Linked DNA regions of Homo sapiens: region 1 is linked to region 2. Evidence: promoter capture Hi-C in 16 types of primary human blood cells and fetal thymus (Javierre and others, 2016). All regions are on one chromosome and are shown on one strand. Each heading gives the region's core, a stretch centred on a gene start or on the middle of the fragment in contact. The rest is flanking DNA. Distances are from core to core; before and after follow the strand shown.

Region 1 (6,483 bases), core at 22-2,521, 430 kb after region 2:
AATCTTATTTCTATCAGTTTTTTTAAAAATGATTTTTTAAGGCCGGGTGCGGTGGCTCACATCTGTAATCCCAGCACTCTGGGAGGCCAAGGCAGGAGGACCCCTTGAAGCCAGGAGTTTGAGATCAACCTGGGCAACAAAGCAAGACCCCCATCTCTACAAAAAAAAAAAAAAAAAAAGTTTTAACCGCAAAAAAAAAAAAAAAAATTTTCCCTCCTCTGCTGACTCTTGCCTTATCTCTCAGTTAGTTCAGAATCCAGGAAGGAAAAGGGAAGTTATTCACTGAGCCCACTCAAAGACAACAGAAATCCCAATGGGAATTATGAAATATTTGCTCAATATGAAATATTTGCTCAATACAAAACAAAATTTGCAGAATGCAACTAAAAGGACATTTATGGAGAAATATATAATCTTAAGTGCATTTACTTTAAAACAAGAATGACTAAAACATACATGTGTAAAGCTTTCAACTAACTAAAGAAGCTTCAAACAAACAAAAAACAACAGTGGAAGGGAATAAACAATAAAGATAAGAGCATCAATGAAAAGGAAATCAACAATTACAGAATATTCAATAAAGCCCAAAGCTGTTTCTTTGAAATGACAAAATAGAAGAACATCTAGCAAGATTAATCAAGGAAAAGAAGAGTAAAGGCACAAATATCTAACATTAGGAATTTTAAAAAGTATGAAACTACAGATAGACTGGAAGTTTTAAGAATCATAAATGAAATAGAGAATTTACAGGAAAGCATAAATGATCAAAGTTTATTCAAAAACAAGAGAAACCCTGTCGGGTGCGGTGGCTCACGCCTGTAATCCCAACACTTTGGGAGGCCGAGGCGGGTGGATCACGAGGTCAGGAGATCAAGACCATCCTGGCTAGCACAGTGAAAGCCCATCTCTACTAAAAATACAAACAAAAAATTAGCCGGGCGTGGTGGCGGGCGCCTGTAGTCCCAGCTACTCGGGAGGCTGAGGCAGGAGAATGGCGTGAACCCGGGAGGCGGAGCTTGCAGTGAGCTGAGATCGCACCACTGCACTCCAGCCTGGGCGACAAAGTGAGACTCAGCCTCAAAACACACACACACACACACACACACACACAAAAACAAGAGAAACCCTAAATAAATCAATGGCCATTAAAGAAAAGAAATCAGCATTTTAAAAAATCACGCTTTGGCCGGGCGCGATGGCTCATGCCTGTAATCCCAGCACTTTGGGAGGCCAAGGTGGGCAGATCACAAGGTCAGGAGTTCAAGACCAGCCTGACCAACAGGATGAAACACTGTCTCTACTAAAAATACAAAAATTAGCCAGGCGTGGTGGTGCGCACCTGTAATCCCAGCTACTCAGGAGGCTGAGGCAGGAGAATCGCTTGAACCCGGGAGGCAGAGATTGCAGTGAGCTGAGATGGTACCACTGCACTCCAGCCTGGGCAACAGAGCAAGACTCCATCTCAAAAAAAAAACAAAAAAACCAAAAAAAAATGAGCCAGGTGTGGTGGCACGCACCTGTAATCCCAGCTACTCGGGAGGCTGAGGCAGGAGAATTGCTTGAACCTGGGAGGCAGAGGTTGCAGTGAGCCGAGATCATGCCACTGCACTCCAGCCTGAGCAACAGAGACACCGTCTCAAAAATAAATAAATAAAACTTAAAAAAATAAAAAATCACCCCTCCTACTCTCCACCTCCCCAGAGAAACCCCATATGCGGTGGACAGAAATGAGACCGAGATGTTTCTCAGAGGCAGAAGGAAGACAGGAACAGCTAGGGGTCTGGAAGTATTTGAGTCTCATGATCTCATCCTTACTCAGGGCTGCTCCATTCCTGTCCTTATCCCTGTTTTGTTTCACGTGGACTCCTAAGTTCTCCTTTTCCTTAGGCACATTCGGCTTGGTGTCTGTCATCGTATGTAACCTGAATACAAGCAGGGTACTAAATGTCCCAGTCATTTTCAAAAAATGATGGAGTGGCACAGTGTCTCACATGGTCCCAGGGTTCCCCTTTACACAAATACCTTCAAAATTCCACATTGGTGGCCACTGCTAAAAACAAGCTTTCCTTCTCTGTCTGCTTCTGAAACACCTCCCTAGCAGCTGATCCTACGTGCTTCCTTCCTTTGTGCCACATCAGCCCAGTCTTGGGTGGGGGGCTTCTGGTCCCACCTGCTGTTCTGCTCTTGGAGGGCCAGAGAATCCTAGATCTCCATGCCAGCCACGCAGCCCCCATCCTCCCCAGTCCCCTGGGGAAATCTTGGTGAGGAATTTCAGGTAACTCAAGTTTGCCTCCCTGTTGTACTGGAACCCATTCTCTACTTCTCAGAGCTCTTAAGCGGATTCAGTGCAAGGTGTTCAGCCCCGGTCTGACACAGGGCTGGGCCTTAAGAGTTCAGTATATGACGTATCTCCTTCATCCTCCACCCCAATGCCAACACAGAGCCTGGCCAAGCAGCACTTCCTCTAGAGGGAAATTTCCTCTAGTAGAAGGCAGAGAACGGGAGGAGCTCTAGACCACTGGGTAAGAGACTTCGGGGGCTACCGAATGACAGAGTTAAAAGGGACTTCAGGGCTGGGCATGGTGGCTCACGCCTGTAATCCCAGCACTTTGGGAGGCTGAGGCGGGTGGCTCACTTGAGGTCAGGAGTTCAAGACCAGCCTGACCAATATGGTGAAACCCCGTCTCTACTAAAAATACAAAATTTAGCTGGGTGTGGTGGTGTGTGCCCGTAGTTCCAGCTATTCGGGAGACTGAGGCAGGAGAATCGCTTGAACCTGGGAGGCAGAGGTTGCAGTGAGCCGAGATTGTGCCACTGCACTCCAGCCTGGGTGAGAGAGCGAGACTCCATCTCAAAAAAAAAAAAAAGGAAAGGGAAGGACTTCAGGCGTGAGCAACCAGGTTATTGCTCAACCTTGAATTTTTCTTCTGGAAGACTCTGGCATACACAGTCCCTTGTAGTAAGCTCCCAGCATGGAAGAAGGCACCAAGACAGAGACTGGGTAAGAACTGAGGGTCCATTGAAAGTCCTTAGAATCAATGCCCTTGAGCGGACAGACTCCCCAGCAGCCCTGCAGGCATTGTCAGAGGATAACCCGATGTTCTAACCCCTCCTGTCAGGCCACCATCATTCAAGCACAACTACACATGTGGAGGCCCAGCCGGGAAACCAGTAGCTGGTCAAACGCGTTGCAATAAATATATTTTCAGCCAATGATAACTATTTAATTGGGTCCTAATTAATGAATGTTCACAGAGCATTTGTGATGCTTCAGAGAACGGTCCCCTGAAAGACACAAGTGCTATGAGTCTATTAGCAGTGGCATTTTAAGGCACTCAAAATTGTAGGTGTGCTAGATCCCAGAAGATTACATTCACTGAAAGTGAACATTAAAATTAGTGCCCTTGTGTGACCCCACCTTTCTCCACTCCTTCTTTCCTCCTTCCTGCTTCCAGAAACATCACGGGTCTGACAGAGCCATGTGGTGGGAATAAGGCTCTTGTAGACTCACAACATTTGACTCTCAGGCTGAGAACTAGACCTTCTCACCTGGGACTCCACGGGGGCAGGTGTGGGTCTCCTTCATTCATGGCTGCACCCCAGCCCCTAGTGTAGGGCTGGCCTGGCACCAATAAGGGGCCTCATCTCTCAGAAGGATGAATACATGAAATGTTAGCCTCAACTTATCAGAGCGCTGGGCTCCCAGCCTCTCCATAGCAGGATCACAGACTGCTGGGCTCCTAGCACCCTAGACTGAAGGATGTGGAGGGCAGCACCCCTATTCTGCAGATGCAAAACCAAGAAACTTCAGGGCTTCCGCCTCACACTTCTGGTTGTTGGAGCAGGAGAGGAATGGAGAGAAGGAAGGAAAGGGGGCGAAGGAAAAGTCTTCTCTCCTGGTTATCAAGGGACACCCCATGAGCTGGGACAGCAACAGAAGCTCCCTCTCCCCAGAGGGCCCCAGGACCCCTCCACTTTCCCTGCTCTGCCCTCATTCTCCCCTCCACAGGGCCAGGAAAGGCAAGGTAGCTCTGGGAGCTGAGAAGATCCTGAAGGAAGAGTGTGGGCTGTGACCTGCCCCCATGGGCTGCACTCTCCCTCTCCCACGCTGGGGAATTCCACCAGGGCTCAGGGAGTTCTTTCATCCGCCCCTGGGTGAATCTTGGACTCTTTTTTTGAGATAGAGTTTCATTCTTGCTGCCATTACAATGGCACAATCTTGGCTCACTGCAACCTCTACCTCCCGGGTTCAAGCGATTCTCCTGCCTCAGCCTCCCAAGCAGCTGAGACTACAGGTGCACACCACTGCGCCTGGTTAATATTTTTGTGTGTATTTTTAGTAGAGATGGGGTTTCATCACGTTGGCCAGGCTGGTCTCGAACTCCTCGAACTCCTAACCTCAGGTGATCCGCCTGCCTCGGCCTCCCAAAGTGCTGGGATTACAGGTGTGAGCTACCGCGCCCGGCCAAAACTTGGACTCTTTTATTGAGCTGTTCTCCCTAATCCACCTTCCATTTCCACTCAATGGGACTCACTAGTTAGCGGGCTATGGATCCACTGGGGAGGGTTGTGTGGCCCAAGATGATGGAGAAAGAGCTCCAGTCGGTCCCGGGAGGCCTGGCCTTTTTTGGACCAGTTTCCCTGACTGGAAAATAAGCTTTGATTAGAAGAGCTCTGAGCCCCCTTGCAGCTCCAATCTGCTCAGATTTTATTTTTTTATGGACTCCATTCTTGAGCAGTGCAGCCTTGGGCAAGTCACCAAAGCGAAATCCTGGTAGCTCATCTGTAAAATGGGCACATTACTGGAGGAAGCCTGGCAGCAGGGGGGTGGGGGAGCTTCTCACCACTGCCCACTCCTTGCTGCACGTCTCTTGGGTCCACCTTGGAGGGGGTTCGCAGCTCACAGTTAAGAGCTCAGACCTGGGTGTCTGGCAAGGCTGGCTTTGAGTTCCAGCTTCACCGGTGACTGACTGCGTGTCAGCAGCTCAGGCCCTGCCTTTCAGTCTCCTCATCCATAGAAAGGAATGTAATGAGTACCAACTCCCTAGGATTGCTGGGAGACAATACCTTTAAGCTCATGGCATGTCCTAAGTGCCAACTCAGTGCCAACTGTCACTTTGTGATTGGCTGAAGTTTCCAGGGCTCACGGCCTGGAGAGGGCCACTGGCTCAGGGACAGAGCCAGAACCAGATCTTGAGGTCCCAAGGAGTGATGTACATGCAGCAGTGAGCACAGGCTGTTCCTGGCTGCCCTGTCCCCTCCCCACTTGCTACAAACCTTTCTCTGAGAAGCCCAGGATCTCACGGAGGCTCTAAGATCTGCAAGGGCCCGACCCATCTCTGGAAGAACCCTATGTGACAGGCCTCCTTCCCTCGTCTGCCCCTTCCCAGGCTCTGCAAGGCCAACTCTCCCAGAAGGCAGCAGCACGTCCTGCCTGCTGCTTTGCTGGGCTCAGAGGAAACCCTGTCCCAGCCCGCCGGAAGGTGGTGACTTCCCGGGCTGCTGTGTCCAGAGGCAAGCGGCCAGGCTCCACCAGGACCCGTGAAACAAGAACTGGAGCCTTGACCCTGGTTGGTCTGAGTGTGTGTGTGTCCTTGTGGAAGTCATGCTTTGGACCTTTGCCTTTGGCTCCCTGTTTGTTCCTGGAGTGCCATGATACACCCACCAGCCCTGGCCCAAATCCCCCTGCCTCCTGGACACTTAGCTCAGGCGTCTCAGCTGAGGCTCCCTCTCTATTTATGCACTGGGCTCCAGTATTTGCAGGCTTCTTTTAGAGCCTTAATAGTAAACTTTCCCAACTGGGGCTCACACCCATGGTTGTGCTTGAATGATAGTGGTCTGACATGAGGGGGTTAGAAAACTCGGTTATTCTCTGATGATGCCTGCAGGGCTGCTGGGGAGTCTGTCTGCTCAAAGGCATCGATTCTAAGGACTCCAAATGGACCCTCGGTTCTTGTCCAGTCTCTGTCCTCGTACTTCCTTCCATGCTGGAAGCTTACTAAAAGGGACCGTGTATGCCAAGAGCTACTGGTGTTATCTCCTTAAACCCTCCCAACCTAGCCCCATGAGGTGGCGCCGACTGACAATTCTATTCCCATTTGACAGCTGGGCCAGCTGAGGTTCCAAGTATAATTTGCCCAAGGACACACCCAGCCAGGAAGTGGAAGGGCGGAATTTAAACCCAAAGCTACTGACTGGACTCCAGAGTTCAGCTTTTACCCTCCTCCCTGGGCAGCCTCCACTCTGCCTGCCAGGGCCTGAGTTCTCAGAGGGCAGGGGCTGTTTCCGGCTCAGCCCAGGTGCCGTCCAGGGCCCAGTGCAAGGCCCAGGACCTGGCTGGTATCTAGGTGGCACCGAATGCATTCAGTCTACTGACAGAAGCAATACAATGTGTGTGCGTGACAGAGAGGCTGTCAGACACACAGGAACAGAGGGAGAGGAGAGAGAGAAAGAGAAAGAAAAATAGGAGGAGGCTCACGGGGT
Region 2 (6,895 bases), core at 2,396-4,895:
CTCAGCCTCCCCAGTATCTGGGATTACAGGTGCGTGCCACTACGCCTGGCTAATTTTTGTATTTTTAGTAGAGACAGGGTTTCATCATGTTGGCCAGGCTGGTCCCGAACTCCTGACCTTGTGATCTGCCCGCCTTGGACTCCCAAAGTGCTGGGATTATAGGTGTGAGTCACTGCATCCAGCTGCCACTTTTTAAATCTGTGTATTGAAGTATGAGATGCAAATAGAAAAGCACACCAAACATTGGTGTAGACATATTTGCCAAACTGGGTACACCTGTGTCATAGATCAGATACAGAACCTGGGCGATCGGTCACTGAGTGACACATATCCCCTGCCTGAGGCTGTCCCACCAAGCACAAGGGCATCTTCTATCTGGTTGTACCTGCCGTGCACCCCACTCCTGCCTCTGTCCTGGAACATGAAACCTTGTCCACAACCTGTATCCTGTTCATTACCTTTCTCTCCTCCCTACTTGAATGTTAGCTCCAAGGAGCTGGTGACTGTGTCCTTCTTGATCACCCAGCACCCTGCCAAGTGCCAGACACAGAGTATGTGCTCACGAAACTCTGGGCAGCAAACGAACGGCCGTGCCAGAGCAGTGGGCACTGGAGAACTGTGCATGTGCAGCCAGCAGCAGGTCACAGTGAGGATGCCCTCACTCACCCAGTTCTCCGTCTTCCTGGCCCGACGCTCCAGCCCCTTCTGCAGGCGCTCCCCTACACCTCCTGAGGCCTGAAACTCATCCACCAGCTGCTTGGTGTGGGCCCACTCCTCCTCACTCACGATGGGCTGCAGCGCCTTCAGGTAGTGGTCCAGGGACTGCTGGAGAGGGGGCACGGGCAGCCGTGGCAGTGCATCCTGGTGTGCCTTGAAGCGGCTGGAAGCCTTCATCAAGGAGAAGGGCTTCAGGAAGCCCAGAGGCTTCACCTGCAGGTAGCAGAACATCCTGTTCATTCCCTCCCCGGCTCTGGAGCCCTGGCAGCCCCAAAGCTGTAGTCCTGGGCACTTAAGTGCCCATCCCTGGGGGCAGAGACGGCCTCTTGGGTGGGGCTGGCCCTGGCCTCCCAGCCCTAGAGCTCTAGGTGTCCCCGCCTCTCTGGGGCCTGGAGATGCAGGTAGGGATGGGGGAGGGTGGGGTGTGGCCATGGTTCTTAGCAAGGCTCAGGGGAACCAAGTCAGGATGAACGGCACCTTTGGGGTGGCAGAGGTGAGGGGGACCGCCCACCTGTTGGGTTGCACAGGCCCCTCCTTTCTCACCCTGGAAGAGGAGCCAGCCAGCAGAGTGGTGACTGTCCCTCTTGGAGGTCCCCACGTCCTTTTCTCCCACCCTTTCCAGGTTGAGAAACAGAAGGGAAGAAGAGAGAATCACAGAGAGCCAGACAATGGCAGCACCTTCGGGTGAGGGGCCTTGGGCTTCCTCCTGCCTTTGAGATGGGGCAGGGGTGGGGTGAGGGCAGTGCTGTGGCGAGAGAGCCGGGTGGCCTGGCATGGAGGGTGAGAGGCGGCAGAGAGAGAAAGAGAAAGTCCAGGAGGCCCTGGAGTGGGCAGAGACAGGAGGGCCCGAGGCTGCTCTTGCAGTGGGCAGGCGAGTGGCAGGAGCTCTGTTCCATACCTTCTCTCTCTGCTGCCCGTCCTCCTCCATGGCAGGACTGAGGTTCTGGGCCCTGTCTGTCTGCCTTGGCTGGATCTCTAAGCCTAACTGTGCTACAAAGTGAGTGAGCAGAACCTAGCCAGAGGCAGCCACTTGCCTGGGCTGGAAAGAGAAGACAAGAGCCAAGATTCAGCGGGAGGCAGGTGGCAGTGGCGATGGCTGTGGTGGAATCGGGGGTTGTGGCAGTGGCAGGGGAAGCTCCTGGACTCTAGAAGCTGCTCCACCCTCCCGAGCTCCCAGAAGTAGAGGAATGGGGAGCAGGTGAGAGGGCTAGTGGGGGGGCATTCCAGTAGAAGGGAACCTGGAAAGTTCTTTCCTTTCTTCTCTGCATGGGCTCAGTGCCAGGGAGTCAGGACAAAAGGTAATAAAAAATCCACCTGTCAGAATCTGCGAAGATCGTTTTGATGAGGGAAAACTTGGCTGGAGGACAGAGACTGCCTGGCCGCTGAGGTTACACCACAGCCCTGGGATCGGTCCTGAAATTAGGGTTGGTGCAAGGGAGCAGACACCAGGAAAAGGCCATCAGTGGATGGGACAGCCAGAAGCCCTGCCTATTTCCTGTTTCTCTCCAGGACTCCTGGGACCCATCTGAGCCATCCCTCTACGAACACTCATTTTTTCCTGAGCTGTGGCTCATTCAGCTAGGGTCCAAGAGCGGAGGACTTTTGGTATGAAAAATAAACCAAAGGACACTGGGATTGGGCTGGATTTGAATGAGCAGGTCCAGGGGACTCTGGGCAAGTCCCTCCTTGCCTCAGTTTCCCTGCAGGAAGGTAACCAGTCCAGTCGGATGGTCCTGGAGGATGATCTAGAGGCTGTTTGTGGGATGGATGCAGCTTGGGAGACAGTGACAAGGGTGCGGTGGAGGCTCAGGGTGTTGCAACACCTAAAAGAGCCTCTAGGCCTGAGCCTGGATGCACCCTCCGCCCTCTGGCCCCGTAGTGTGTGTCTGAGACAGAGTGAGACACCAGCAACATATGCTTGGATCAGGGACGGAAGGGACTGAAATTAGGCTAGCATCCGGGCTGCTCACCGGGGAGGACTGAGGGGTAGATATAGCCAGGGTGGGGAAGGGGGCTAGAGGGGAGGATATAGCCAGGGTGGGGAAGGGGGCTGGAGGGAAGGATACAGCCAGGGTGGGGAAGGGGGCTGGAGGGGAGGGAGACCATGGGGCTGCCACCTGCCAGTTCTGAGGCCTTTCTAGCTTGATGCCTCCGCGTGTTTCTCTGGCCACACACAATTCCCCAGGGACCGTCTGATAAACCAAAGGAGTGTGACCAACTGGACAGGGTCGGAGGAGTGGCTCTGGCCTAAGCGTGCGACGGGTGTGTCAATCGGAGAATAACTGGGAGAGTGAGCTAGGGTCTGGATGCTCCTGGTCTCTCTCCCCTACCGGCCTGTCTCTGGGTCTAAGGGTGGGGGTGCTAACTGAAGCCGGGGTCCCCCTTGTCTTTCCTGGGTCGTTGGAACTGAATGCTCCAGGACGTGGGTTTAATCCCGCTTCTGACCTTGCGCCCCAATCTCCTGCTCTGCCAAACCTGGGACGCCCGCCTGACCCCACCCCATCAGCTGGAGGCCGGGTCGAACAGCGGCCGCAGGACGCGGTCTCCGTTCCCGGACGCAACCGCACGGCCCGCCCAGGCCGTCCAGGGCCCTCAGGCCCGGGATCCGCCGCACTCACCACGGTCCTGGCAGCGAAGGCTAACATCTTCGCTGCCCGTCCGCGGACACGCAGTCCGCTCCGCCCCACACACCGGGCAAAGTCCGCGCCGCCGCCGCCGCGGCTGGGGTCGGTGGGTCCTTGCTAGAGCCTTCGGGCCAAGGTCGCTGAGTTACAGCCGCCAGCCGGTAGAGGCAGCCCCGCGCCCACCCTCTGGGCCGAGCGGGCTGCGGGAAGGCACCCGGGGAGGAGGACTCGCGAGGCGGGGCCTGGGCCGGTAGCGGGCCCCGGGCGGGCAACGGTGCCCGGGAGGTTGGCTGTGGGGCGGGGACGGGGCATCGATGGGGCGGAGTCTCCTTGAGGAGGGACAGGAGGGGCGGGGACGGAGGGGCGGGGCGTCGCCCGGTAGCGGGTCGCAGTAGGCTGGCTGCGAGTCGGGGGCGGGACCACGGCGGGCGGGGACAGAGGGGCAGGGCCGAGGGCGAGTCATTGAGACCTGTGGAGGAGGAAGGAGGAGGTCACCGTCCAGCTGTCTCTCCCCTGTCCCCACATGTCTTCTAAGCTGTTGGAGGTAGTGGTGTGCACCTTTCCAACTCCGTCTGGTGTCCTTGAGCCTAACTCTTAGAGTGATAGGAAAACACAACCATGTTGACCGGGGAATGTCCTCTAATATTCCTTGGGTTAGGGTCAGTACCACCCACAAAGATGACAGGTGGTACTCCGGGACAGGAGACTGTCCCGGAAAAACATGGCTGAGCACAACCCAAACTTGACGCCCCGCACAATCGTGGCAGTCGCGGCGCCCGACGTTCGGGCGGCCGTGAGCGGTCCTAGCGCTTGGCGGCCGTTGGCGCGCATGCGCCCCGCGCGCCCCGCACTGACATGGCCGTCGCCCGGTTCCGCGCGTCCGCCGCGCGCCGGCCGTTAATAGGCTTGCTCCCTGAGCGCCCCGCACCGACATGGCGGCCGTCTTCGCTGTGGTGACTTTAACTCTCGGTTTTCGGTTATAGCCGGCCGGCGCTCACTTGTCTTCAGGAAGCTCGGAGCCTTTGGTGGAGCCGGGGAGAGGAAGGGTGGGTGCAAGAGTGAAAGGCGAGAGGGGACTGCAAGCATCCGGGTCGGCTCCTGGCCGGAGCAAGATGGCTGAGGGCGAGCGGCAGCCGCCGCCAGGTAAGGCCGGCGGGGCCAGGCCGGGCCGGGGTCGGGTAGGGTGGGGGCGGTGCCAGGTGTGGGAGGCTCAGGAGGGCGAGAGTCATGACACGGAGGAACTGGAGGGGCAAAAGCTGAGGGGCCCCGAGGAGGGACTGAGTTGAATGGCCTTAGGGGAGAGGTGGGTGGTGGGGCGCCGCTGGGGAGGGAACCAGGGGCTGCAAAGGGGTGGTGATTGGGGCGCAACTCTGGGTTTTGTGGGAGTCCAGGCTGCCCGAATGCTGGGTGGGCAGCGCCGTGGTCATAAGGGGGCCTTTTGCATCTCTGGGCAGCGCGTGCTTAAGTAAGCTGCTGACTCGGTGGGGAAGCTGCCAGGGAGGGGGGCGAAAGTGATTCCGGAGGCTGCCGTCTTTATTAGTCGCTGCTTAGGGGATGGGGTGGTGCTCCGTGGGCCTGCGCCCGCCTCGCCTCCAGTTTCGGCCTCCGCGTCCTGCTCACCCCTCATCCTCCTACTCTCTGGTTCCAGTGCCTGAGAATTTATTGAGGGAAACTGCCCGTGGTGTCTAAATCCCTAATTTTAAAAGGCTGGTTGTGCAAGGAGGTTAGTCTCTCCGGCATCTCCTTCGGTAACTCTTATTTACCTTGTAGCCTCTTTTTAGTTCATCTTAAATAACTGGGATGGAGGTGCTACGGAAGGATCTTAGAGACCCTTTTTGTGCAGAAGGAGAAGGCTGTTTGCCGACCTACCTTGAACTAAGAAGGACTGGCCATAGATAACTTTTACATTCCCGACAGAGGCAAATAGGTTGGCCGACCAAACACAGCTAATGTTTTGAAAGCATTTGATATTCTTGCTATCCTGTCTCCAATGTTGGGGTCCCTGGGAAGGTCTCAGGAGGGAGAAATGTTGAAAATCAGAAAAGGCATCCCCTCCATGCCCCACAAAAGAGGTGAACAAAGAGCTGGGTTCCGTTTCTTAGGACATTCAAAACCAGACATTTATTTTGTACAAAACCTCTGGGTGTGTGCCCTTAGAACAAGGATGTCCAGGCCAGGCGCGGTGGCTCATGCCCGTAATCCCAGCACTTTGGGAGGCCGAGGCGGGCTGATCACCTGAGGTCGGGAGTTCGAGACCAGCCTGACCAACATGGAGAAACTCCGTCTCTTCTAAAAATACAAAATTAGCCGGGCGTGGTGACACACGCCCGTAATCCCAACTACTAGGGAGGATGAGGCAGGAGAATCGCTTGAACCTGGGAAGCAGAGGTTGCGGTGAGCTGAGATCGCGGCATTGCACTCCAGCCTGGACAACAAGAGTGAAACTCCGTCACCCCCCAAAAAAAAAACCGGGGTGTCCACTCTTTTGGCTTCTCTAAGCCACATTGGAAGCAGAATTGTCTTGGGTCACACATAAAATACACTAACACTAACGATGGCTGATGAGCTAAAAAAAAAGTCGCAAAAAAAAAAATCTCATAATGGTTTTGTGTTTCTTTTTTTTGAGACAGTGTCTCACTCTGTCCCCCAGGCTGAAGTGCAGTGGCATGGTCTCGGCTGACTGCACCCTCTGCCTCCCGGGTTCAAGCGATTCTCCTGCCTCAGCCTCCTGAGTAGCTGGGACTACAGGTGCGCCACCATGCCTGGCTAATTTTTGTATTTTTAATAGGGACAGGGTTTCACCATATTGGCCAGGCTGGTCTCGAACTCCTGACCTCGTGATCCTCCTGCCTCGGCCTTCCAAAGTGCTGGGATTACAGGCATGAGCCACCGTGCCTGGCCTATGTTTTAAGAAAGTTTACAAATTTGTGTCCGGCTACATTCAAAGCTGTCCTGGGCTGTGGGTTGAACAAGCTAGCCTTAGAAGTTCTGGTGATGACTCCGGGCACAGTGGCTCACACCTGTAATCCCAGCACTTTGGGAGGCCGACACAGGCGGATCACTTGAGGTCAGGAGTTCGAGACCAGCCATGGCCAACATGGCAAAACCCCGTCTGTATTCAAAATACAAAAATTAGCTGGGTGTGGTGGCACACGTCTGTAATCGCAGCTACTCGGGAGGCTGAGGCAGGAGAATCACTTGAACCCAGGAGGCGGAGGTTGCAGTGAGCCGAGATTGCTCCACTGCACTCCAGCCACTGCACCCCAGCCTGGGCGAGAGAGCTAGACTCCATCTCAAAAAAGAAAAAGTTCTGGTAAGGACATCAGGAGATAGGAGATATAAGGCAACCACTGTTATCAGTGAGATGAATGTGTCCCTGAAGATGAGTGGGGGTGGGGAGTGGGAGGAGAGAGAACCTGTGCCCTGAAAGAGAGCTGTGCTCAGGGAGGTTATCCGTGGCTGGAAACAGCCAGGTCCCTGGTTGTGGTCCTTTTTTGAAATTTGAAACAGAACTTTTGGGAACAGCTGGAAAGAACTTCTTCTTTTTAGTTTTT

The links. The method cuts DNA at HindIII sites, captures the fragments that hold promoters and counts their contacts. A CHiCAGO score of 5 or more calls a contact.
Region 1: a contact is called between a fragment that was not itself captured here and the fragment with the promoter of CRAT in region 2, in 2 of 17 cell types (endothelial precursors and monocytes). The highest score is 5.8, in endothelial precursors.

The regions. Positions count from the first base shown.
Region 1 is chr9:129,543,162-129,549,644 of GRCh38, forward strand. No RefSeq gene overlaps it. Among named protein-coding and RNA genes, the nearest start is that of LINC00963, 58 kb to the left of the region's middle. RefSeq lists an enhancer at 4,954-5,454. The HindIII fragment of the contact is 1,575 bases long and covers 485-2,059 here.
Region 2 is chr9:129,107,148-129,114,042 of GRCh38, forward strand. It overlaps CRAT (carnitine O-acetyltransferase), which reads right to left and starts at 3,646. Exons shown (of 14, transcript NM_000755.5): 1 at 3,336-3,646; 2 at 667-930. The coding sequence starts at 3,362. It overlaps PTPA (protein phosphatase 2 phosphatase activator), which reads left to right and starts at 4,268. Exons shown (of 10, transcript NM_178000.3): 1 at 4,268-4,484. The coding sequence starts at 4,454. RefSeq lists silencers at 3,402-3,841, 4,532-4,581 and enhancers at 4,252-4,531, 4,464-5,004. The HindIII fragment of the contact is 8,818 bases long and covers 1-6,895 here.